Linked DNA regions of Homo sapiens: regions 1 and 3 are each linked to region 2. The links are contacts of gene promoters, found by promoter capture Hi-C in blood cells and fetal thymus (Javierre and others, 2016). All regions are on one chromosome and are shown on one strand. Each heading gives the region's core, a stretch centred on a gene start or on the middle of the fragment in contact. The rest is flanking DNA. Distances are from core to core; before and after follow the strand shown. Region 1 overlaps PLCG1 (phospholipase C gamma 1). Region 2 holds the start of EMILIN3 (elastin microfibril interfacer 3). Region 3 overlaps PLCG1 (phospholipase C gamma 1).

Region 1 (3,172 bases), core at 6-2,505, 220 kb before region 2:
TAGCAAGTAGGCAGCTGAATTGAAGGATCTGAAGCTTAAGAGGAGAGGACTAGGCTAGAGACCTGTTTGTGAATTATCTGTACATAGGAGGTAATTAAGGGTGTGGGCATGGCTGACACTGATGAGGAAGAAGGCAGAGCACCGGAAGAGAGGACCTTGACCTGAGCCTTGACCAAGGCCATTGCTAAATGCAGGTAGGCCTGTAGCGCACAAAGAAGCATGAAAACCAGGCAAGGTTGTGCAGGAGAAATCAAGGGCAGAGCTTCAAGGAGAGAGGGCGTGATCAACCATGTTGATTGCTCTGAGGTGTCAGGAAGGAGGACCATAGATAAGTGATTTATGGGTCAGGCACGGTGATTCATGCCTGTAATCCCAGCTCTTTGGGAGGCCAAGACTGGCGAGTCATTTGAGCCCAGGAGTTCAAGAACAGCCTGGGCAACATGGCAAAACACCATCTCTGCAAAAAATATAATCAGCCTGGCGTTGTGGTTTGCCTGTAGTCCCAGCTACCTGAAAGGCCAAGGTGGGAGGATCACCTGCACCTGGGGAGGTAGAGGCTACAGTGAGCCCTGTTGGTGCCACTGCACTCCAGCCTGGACAACAGAGTGACTTATGGGCCAGGCATGGTGGCTCACACCTGTAATCCCAGCACTTTGGGAGGCCGAAGTGAGAGGATCACTTGAGGCCAGGAGTTTGAGACAAGCTTGGGCAACATAGTGAGACCCCATCTCTATAAAATATAAAGAAAAATTTTAAAAGTGACTTATACCCATTGCTCTGGTTCTCCAAGTAGCCTGAGTGTACTATGTGGGGGAGCATTTTATGAGGGACTTTTGAGGTCCTGGGCATCCCTGAGACATGGCCCTGGTGGGTCCCCAGTCTCTCTCCTGTAGCTAGGAGCCTGGCATACACAGGCCATCTAGAAAGAACTTAGGCAGCATCAGTCTGCAAGGGAGGCAGAGTTTGGAGCACACTAGACTCCTGACACAGAGGCTGACCCATGGCTGCCTGGAGAATCTTCTGGGCTTGTGCAGAAAAGTTGGGGAAAGCCACCTTTCCCTACTGTGGCAGTCAAGGCTTGGTATAGGCCATCTTCCCTCCCTTCTCATCCATGATACTCTGAATGCCCTGTTTGTGGAACTTAGTGGACTCCTGCACCTCTGTCTTGGTTTCCATGAACCCCTCTGCCCAATGTGTGCTTGTCAGCCCTCCAGACCTGGCTTTTACAGAGCACTCCAAGACATTGCTCTACACACACTCAGCTCCACAGACACCTCCCTGTTGTTCTACTCGTTGCATGACCTCATAGTTATCTGCTTCCCCATCTGTTTCCTCCATCAGGCAGGGGTTTTCTCAAAGGCAGGAACTCAAATGCCTTATTGATCTCTGTTTCCCTAGGACCCAGCCCAGGGCCTGACATGGAGTAGATAGATGCCCGATAAATGTTTGATCAGATGATGGAATGAATGACTGCATAAGCCGAATAGATCACTGCTGAGTGCTCTTCCAGCTTTAATTTCTCTGGGTGGGACCTCCTTTCCCTTCCTTCCTTTGGATTCTGTTCTTACCTCTGAAATAGGTGAGATTAATTTAGAGTCCTAGGGAAGAGGGCTGCCTGCCTGGATGGTACAAAGGCTGGCTGTGGCTGCTCTGTGTTTCTCTGTATACCCAGTGTCAGGGATAGCAGCTGCTGTGGGGACACTGCAGAGTGTCCCAGTTCTGCCATGACTCACCATATGACCATGACAAGACCCTTTGGACCCTCTGTTTCCTCATTGTTTCAAAGAGATTTGTCTAGAATCTAGACCAAGCTTGTCCAACTCGCTGCCCGCGGGTCTGGTTTGAAGGCAGCTGCTGCACAGTAATGGGAAGGACAGTAAGCCCCACCATCGCCTTCCCTTTGCCATATAACCCTGTGACCTCAGAAGTCCCTGAACCCAGATCCTTGTTTGTAAAATGGAAAGGGATAGCTACCCACCCCTCCACTTTGACCTTCCTTTGGTGGCAGCCAGATGTGCTCAGGGAAACCTCAGATTTGTGAGTATGTTTCTACTGAGAGGCAGGAGGAGGAATATTATAGTCTCAGGAAGAGGGAGGAATGAGAGGGAGAGGAGAACTCTCACCCTTTCCACAGGCTTTGGGCATATGCAGCCAGCTTGGAAATGCTGACCATCCTGTGACCTGGCTACTATTGCATCAGGCTTCCTTCCCACCTGTGTCCAGGTCCTATCTTTGTCTCTTCTTTGGCTACCTCCATCCTTTTCCTTCAGAGCTGCAAAAACCTTGCCAAAGCCGTATGGTCCTGATGGGTGCAGAGCCCCTGTGCCTCTGGCTGCCTGTGAAGGGGGATCTGCAGTGCAGTGCCTGCCGTACCCCACAGGGAGTTGTATAGGAACCTGGGGATGGGGTGACTGAGGTAGGGGGCCAGAAGTGGCCCAGATGATACTCACTTCTGCTGGAACTTTTCTTTGTCCATCTTTCAGCATCCTCTGGTGGAGAAGGCTTAGCTCCATTAATGCTCTCCTAGGTCCTGGCTGTGTATTTTCTTTGGTATGGGAGTGGGGAACTGGGAGGGACTCATCTGTTTGCCACAGACTACATGTGGAGAGGGTGATTGGTGAGAGGTCATTTTGGAGATCTACACACCTCTTCTGACCCCTGGGACCACTCTCCTGAATCTCCTCATGGTCTTGGCTTCGGGCCCAGCAGGGCGTGGGTGCTCGGCATCCTGCTGCTTTTACTGTTTTTCCCAAAGCTCTGTTAGCTTCCCGTGGTTCCCACTGGCTATAGGAATCTTTATGTAAGGACTTCCCAGTGTTTCCAGACTGTATTTGCCCCCAGGGGTCACATTCCCCCCAACTATGCCTGCTGCTGCTTTTTCTGTTCCCGTTGTTACCTCACTGACCACTGCATTTTCAGTATTTGTTGTAGCCCCTCAGCCTCTGTGGCCCACTGTGCCACCTCTTCCAGGAAGCCATCCTTGATACCATCTTTCTGGTACCATTTTTGAGCATCTGTGGCCTTTGCTGCCTGTTAGATAATTAGCTCTGGAATCTAACTCCCATGTGTTTACTCCTGCTCTTAAGTACTCTGAACATTTTGAGGCCTCCCCAGGCCCTGGGTTTGTGTTGGACTGGTAGGGAATGGAGAGAAGAGTCAAATGTGGTTTCTT
Region 2 (3,190 bases), core at 429-2,928:
ACATAGGCACAGAGGGCCCTACAGGAGAAAATGGCACCCCTGGAATATCTGGCTGAGCGAGGCCCACAGAGGCGCCTACCCTCCCACCTCCATCTGTGGGCCTCAGCAGGACTCCAAACTCCCATGTCTCTTCTGTCTGTTCTCTGTGTCCCTGGGAGCCAACGCCCTTGGTCTGGGGTCCAGCCCCGCTGCTGGTCTCTGATTCCAGCCTCCGTGATGGGTGGCCCCTGGGCTAAGCACTATTTGGAACCAGGAGCCTGATGTGGCTGCCCCTCCCTGCGTGGGGAAGAGGCCAGCCCGGATTCTCCCTCAAGTGCCCTGCCACACCCCCCCATCCTTCGCTGATTCCAAACTCCTTATCTTGGCATTTAAGGCTTCCGAGTCCCCACTCAGTGACTCCTTTGAGAGCACCATGTCTTGTCCTTCCTCCCTGCCTGGCTCCCGGGGAAATCCACCTCTCCTCGTAGTTTTGCAGCCCCTGCCTTTGGTCCTGTTCCCTTACTCTCAGAGCAGTTCTTGTACCACCTCCTCCAGGAGGCTCGCTGTGATGTACCCAGGCCCACTGAGTGTCGGTACTCTTCCTCCTACAACAGCTCTCAAATTCAGCTAGAATTCAAGTTCAGCCAGCACCCCAGGCAGAGCCTCCAGCCCACTTAACTGAGGCCAGTTCGCAAGCCACTGCCCACGAAACACCAGAAGCTGAGGCGGGGAAAGCAGGCTCCTTGATGAGCCACAAGGGCTGAGGAGGTGGCTGCCTGGCATAAGCCGACCGCTGTGGACGGCTGTGCCACAGCACAGGCCCGGAGCCAGGAGCCCGCTCTGGCTCTGCAGCCCGGCCACGCTGGGGCTCCCATGGGGTTGCTGGGGCCAGGCTGACTGCGAGAGGGCAGCGGCCGCCCGGATGCGCAGCTCTATCTCCTACCTGGCCGGGCCAGGGGAGAGAAGGGAGGCCCGGGGCGGGGGAGCCCCGCGTGCTCAGCGCGCGGACCGCCTTTCCTCCTCTCCCTCCACCTGGTCCGCTCGCCCGGAGTCTGCACACAGCGCAGCTGGAAAATGTTACTTCGCTGGAAAGGTTTCCGCTGGCACTGCCAGGATCCCAAGCCGCCGCGCCAGGCCCCCTCGGTTCCTTTTTCCTCGCCAGCCCCGCAACCTCCCGGAGCGTAGGGCGCTCGCCTGGGCAGGGGCTCGGCCCCGGGCGCCGCCCCCTCTGTGCAGCGGCCTCGGGGTGCCCGGGGCCTCGACGCCCCCCGCGGGTGCGGGCAGGTGGGAGCGGCGACGCGCGCGGGCCCATCCCTCCCTCTTCCCGCCCGCCGCCCGCCCGCGCTTACTTGTGCGGCCCCGGGCGCAGCCGCGGGCGCCATCCCGTCGTGTAGAGACTGTAGCGGGAGGCACCGGGCGGCGCAGGCCGCGCCAGGAGCGGGGTGCCCCTGGCCTGCGCCCCCGAGAGCAGCGCCGCGACGGCGCACAGCCAGACGAGCAGGCGGCGGCGGCCCATAGCGGCCCCCGCGCCTCTGCCCGGCCCCGCGCGGTGCCCCCCGCCGGGTGTCCGCCTGCAGCGCCGCGCCGCCCCCGCCGCTGGTCGGCCCGGGTCCCGCCCCGAGGGTCCCGGGGTCCCCTTCGGCCCCCGAGCTCGCTGGCCCGGCCGCCTGGCGCTTCGCGGCGGCTGCGTCCCGCGGAGTGGCCGGCGCTGCTAGCGGCTGGGGCCGCGGAGGGGAGGCGGGAGGCGGGCTCTTTGCGGATTAGCATAAACTTGGGGCCGCGCCGCTCGCCGCCGCCAGCCCCTCGCCCCAGCTCCGAGCGGACGGCCGAGGAGCCGCCTGCGAACAGGAGGTTCCAAAGGGAGCAGCCCCAGGTGGCAGGGGCGCAGGCCGCCGCGCCCTGGGAGGCCCCCCGAGCACACCAGCCACTCTGTCGCCTGCGGGCACGGGGCGAGACGCAGAGAAGCGGACCCCTGAGGCCAGCCTGGGCGTGGACTTTCCAGGAGTCGTCCACCCTCAGGATACGCTTGTCTTCAGAGTCCGTGTGAACCCGGGAACTGCTCTCCAGGGCTCTGGAGCCGAGATGGCCGTGACTGGGGGCACAGCAGCACCACCTCCCCCGCCACCTCTTTGGAATAGACCCCAGATCATCCCCGTTTGCTCGCTCTGCCTCCTGGCCCCATCATTGCCCGGGAACCTTAGTTTGATAACTCCGCTGACCTCTCCCCAGGCATCCCACCTCCCCCTTACCCCGCAACCTCTGCCACGTAGCCTGGTGGCCCGGTTGCACCTCTGGTTCTCTGGAGGCGCCTGTGTTGCCTCTCTGTCTTAGGTATGGGTTGCACCGAGCCCGAAAGGCCTATCACCGCCCCAGCCCAGCCAAAAGTGCTGTGCTTTTCGTGCAACTGAAGCTCTAAGCCGGCTGGTCAGAGAAAATCCTCAGGTCTTTCTCACAAGGCACTGCCGCGGTGAAGCCAGGCGTCGTCCACATTTTGCTTGTGAAGTTGACTCTTGGAACCCAAGAGTTGGGTTTTATCGTCGTCCTCATTCAGTATCACCTTGCTAACTCTCTAACCTGCACAGAGTCCTTCTGATTCTGTCATCAGAGCGGTACTTTCCTGGCCTTGTCTCATCCACACCGGTGGCTACAGCCGTCTGTGTCTTTGCCCCAGGAGCTGATAGGTGTACAGAACTCTGGGGCTTGCTTGGAGAGACCTCCCTCCAAATTGACCTTGAGATATGAATTAATGCCTTTTGGATAGGGTGATGGTTATCAAGGATACTGGAAGGGGCAGCTCCGAAACCCACATCTATTTCCTGCCCTTAGCTTTAGTGGCTTTTGGGTTCTGTGGGGCGGACATCTGACCCCAGCTAGGCCCATCCTGCTTTCCCCCAGGCTTTGGAATCAGAACACAGAAGCTGAAGGAATCCAGCTTCCAGGTGTAGGTTGTGTGAGTTTCTCAGGGCTGTGGTAACAGCCACAGACTCAGTGGCTTAACACACAGAAATGTATTCTTGCACATTTCTGGAGGCTAACTCCAAAATCCATGGGCCAGCAGGGCAATGCCCCCTCCAGTGGCTCTGGGGAGAAGCCTTCCTTGCCTCTTCCAGCCACTGGTGGTTCCTGGCAATCTCTGGCGTTCTTTGGTCAAGGATTCTTTGTAGCAGCATCACTCCAGCCTCTACTTTCCCTCCGCATATCCCTCTTCAGG
Region 3 (2,835 bases), core at 73-2,572, 190 kb before region 2:
CGAAGGTGAGGAAGATGGAGGGGTGCTAGAGCCAGGAAGGCAGTGGCTAGGTCCTCCTTCTTCAGTGTTTCTTTCTCCTGGGTAGAAAAGTTGTAATATTGTCTGGCATTGGGCTGCAAGGCCCTGCCTGCCAGTAAGGACACTCTTCCCTTCTGTCCAGGGCCCCAAGAAGGACTCGGGTCAATGGAGACAACCGCCTCTAGTTGTACCCCAGCCTCGTTGGAGAGCAGCAGGTGCTGTGCGCCTTGTAGAATGCCGCGAACTGGGTTCTTTGGAAGCAGCCCCCTGTGGCGGCCTTCCGGGTCTCGCAGCCTGAAGCCTGGATTCCAGCAGTGAATGCTAGACAGAAACCAAGCCATTAATGAGATGTTATTACTGTTTTGGGCCTCCATGCCCCAGCTCTGGATGAAGGCAAAAACTGTACTGTGTTTCGCATTAAGCACACACATCTGGCCCTGACTTCTGGAGATGGATCCTTCCATCTTGTGGGGCCAGGACCATGGCCGAAGCCCCTTGGAGAGAGAGGCTGCCTCAGCCAGTGGCACAGGAGACTCCAAGGAGCTACTGACATTCCTAAGAGTGGAGGAGGAGGAGGAGCCTTGCTGGGCCAGGGAAACAAAGTTTACATTGTCCTGTAGCTTTAAAACCACAGCTGGGCAGGGTGAGAAGCTAGATGCCCCTGCAGTTTGGCCCTGGAGCCAGGGCAGAGGAATGTAGGGCCTGCATGGAGAAGGGTTCTGCCCTGCCTGAGGAGGAGGACACAGCACAAGGGCACATTGCCCATGGCTGGGAACATGACCCAGCCTGAAAGATACAGGGGATCATGTTAAAAATAGCAGTATTATTTTTCGTCTCAATGGTATTGTAACTAAGTTATTTACTCCTCCTGCTCCTCACCCCTGTAGGGAAACCTTGGAGAGGAGAGTGGCAGGTGGGCTGCCTGCTGTGTTAAGAGGACTTAGTTTGTGATGTAAGGCACTGTCAGGAATGGGGGGCGGGCCAGGGTGGGAAGAGAAGAAATAGCAGAGCCTATTTTGGTGAGGTTTTTTGTTTTTAAGTCAAAGAAGACTCAGTATGCTTTCCCTGAGGAATGAAAAAGGGATTGAGGAGTTGCCTGACTCCTGGGTGGGTGGGGTACAGGCAGTTAGGTGCTGAATGAAGCTGCCATCCTTGCTGCAGCTTCTAACTGGTAAAAAGATCCAGGGATGGAGATGGGAAGGTTAGAAAGGCAGCCCTCACCTCTGAGGACAGAGGCCGGGGTCCAGGCCCGTGGGCGCAAAGGTGCCTCATAGCATAGCCAGCATTCAGCACACACAAACCTACTGCCCACATTTGGGCTCAGGGTTGGCCATTTGCTAGTTCTGCTGCCCTCTTAAGATCTGACTGCCAAATAAATCATCCTCATGTCCTTTTTCCTTTGACTTGTATGCTCTTTCGGGGGCTCAGGAAAGCCTGTTGCATGGGACATGCTCACTAGAAACAGTCGCCAGATGATTATTCTGCAGTAGAAGCAGGTAGGAAATTTCTGGAAATTTCTCAGGTTAAGCAGCAAGAGCTGTAACCCCTCCTCTGGGCTAACAGGAGTTGTGGGTCCACTCTCTCCTGCCCACCCTCTGAGGGTGTGTCTGAGCAGAGTACATCCTGCCTGGGTTCTTTGTGGCCAGCCAGTTTTGGTGGTGAGCTGGAAACAACCAGAGCCCCTTTCCAGTTCCACAGAAACCTCTCCTTTCAAAAATGTTGCATTCAGTTCGTTAACACTGCCAGGTGCCATTCTGATTGCCTCTAGGACTTGGCAGCTGAAATCTCTGGGCCCTTTCAACACAGTTGAAAGGCCCTTCTCTTCCTGAAGCTCTGTTTCCATAGTTGGCTGTGCTGGGATGGAACAAAAATGACGCCACACAAAAAATTTAAGATAGATCCGGTTCCGTGGATGACATGAACTGATGATAGCCAGTATCAAACAGCGATAGTGCTCAGGTTCTTGTGTGACTTTCTTTTACAGCTTCACAGTCCCAGTTCATAGAGAGGAGGGTGGCTTTTTCCCATACACAAGAAGGTGGTGGGTGGGAATTCACCTGGGCCCTCATGATCCATGTTTCCTCTCTAGGTTTTTATGGCCTGGAGAGAAAGGTTTCCTATCAGAGAAGGAAGAGGACTGTGTAGGCCCTTCTGTTAGGGCCCATCCACGTTGGTTAGGACGTCCTTGGCGTGTTTGTTAGTGTTGACCCTTTTAGTTTTCATCAATACGTATCTCTATTTGCTGAACAAGTGTCTTTCTGGAACACAACCTGGGGAACAGACAGCTCTGCCTTTCTTAAGGCAGCTTTGTAGACCTGAGGCTCACCTCTCTTGGGCTCTGTAAGACATTGCCTTTGCCTCACTGCAAATGTTTTGATTGTTCTTCCTAGTGGAAAACGTGCCAACTCTCAAGCAAATTTAAAGATCATTTTCACTTCAAGATTCCTCCAGACCTGACAAATGTTGATTGACCCAGAAGGCAGAGTGTTTGTTGGTGGGGAAGACCCTTACTTGGGGCCGAATGCTTTGGCATCAGGAGTTGTTTGCCCCATCCCATGCATGCAGGCCGTGTCCCTACAGTGCGACAGCTCAGGGTTATGACCTGTGGAGTCTCAACCCTAACAGCACATTAGCACCACTTGGGGAGCTTCTGAAAAATACTGGTACCCGGGGCCTTAGCATAGGTATTGTTCAAAACCTCTCAAGGTGATTTAAATGAGTAACAAGGGTTGAAAAACCCTGATTTTGGCAGCACAAACCAAAAGAGCAGGCAGGGCCGGGAGAGGGAAGTCAGTGGTACCAGAAGGTAGATGGGCT

The links. The method cuts DNA at HindIII sites, captures the fragments that hold promoters and counts their contacts. A CHiCAGO score of 5 or more calls a contact.
Region 1: a contact is called between a fragment that was not itself captured here and the fragment with the promoter of EMILIN3 in region 2, in 3 of 17 cell types (megakaryocytes, erythroblasts and M1 macrophages). The highest score is 6.3, in megakaryocytes.
Region 3: a fragment that was not itself captured here is called in contact with the fragment with the promoter of EMILIN3 in region 2 in 2 of 17 cell types (megakaryocytes and erythroblasts); the score reaches 6.3 in megakaryocytes.

What each region holds. Positions count from the first base shown.
Region 1 is chr20:41,149,570-41,152,741 of GRCh38, forward strand. The region is part of intron 1 of PLCG1 (phospholipase C gamma 1); the gene reads left to right. Among named protein-coding and RNA genes, the nearest start is that of PLCG1-AS1, 13 kb to the left of the region's middle. The HindIII fragment of the contact is 1,108 bases long and covers 702-1,809 here.
Region 2 is chr20:41,365,140-41,368,329 of GRCh38, forward strand. It overlaps EMILIN3 (elastin microfibril interfacer 3), which reads right to left and starts at 1,679. Exons shown (of 4, transcript NM_052846.2): 1 at 1,329-1,679; 2 at 1-18. The coding sequence starts at 1,495. RefSeq lists an enhancer at 416-917. The HindIII fragment of the contact is 20,041 bases long and covers 1-3,190 here.
Region 3 is chr20:41,174,307-41,177,141 of GRCh38, forward strand. It overlaps PLCG1 (phospholipase C gamma 1), which reads left to right. Exons shown (of 32, transcript NM_002660.3): 31 at 1-5; 32 at 161-2,835. The coding sequence ends at 203. Among named protein-coding and RNA genes, the nearest start is that of MIR6871, 6.7 kb to the left of the region's middle. The HindIII fragment of the contact is 9,247 bases long and covers 1-2,835 here.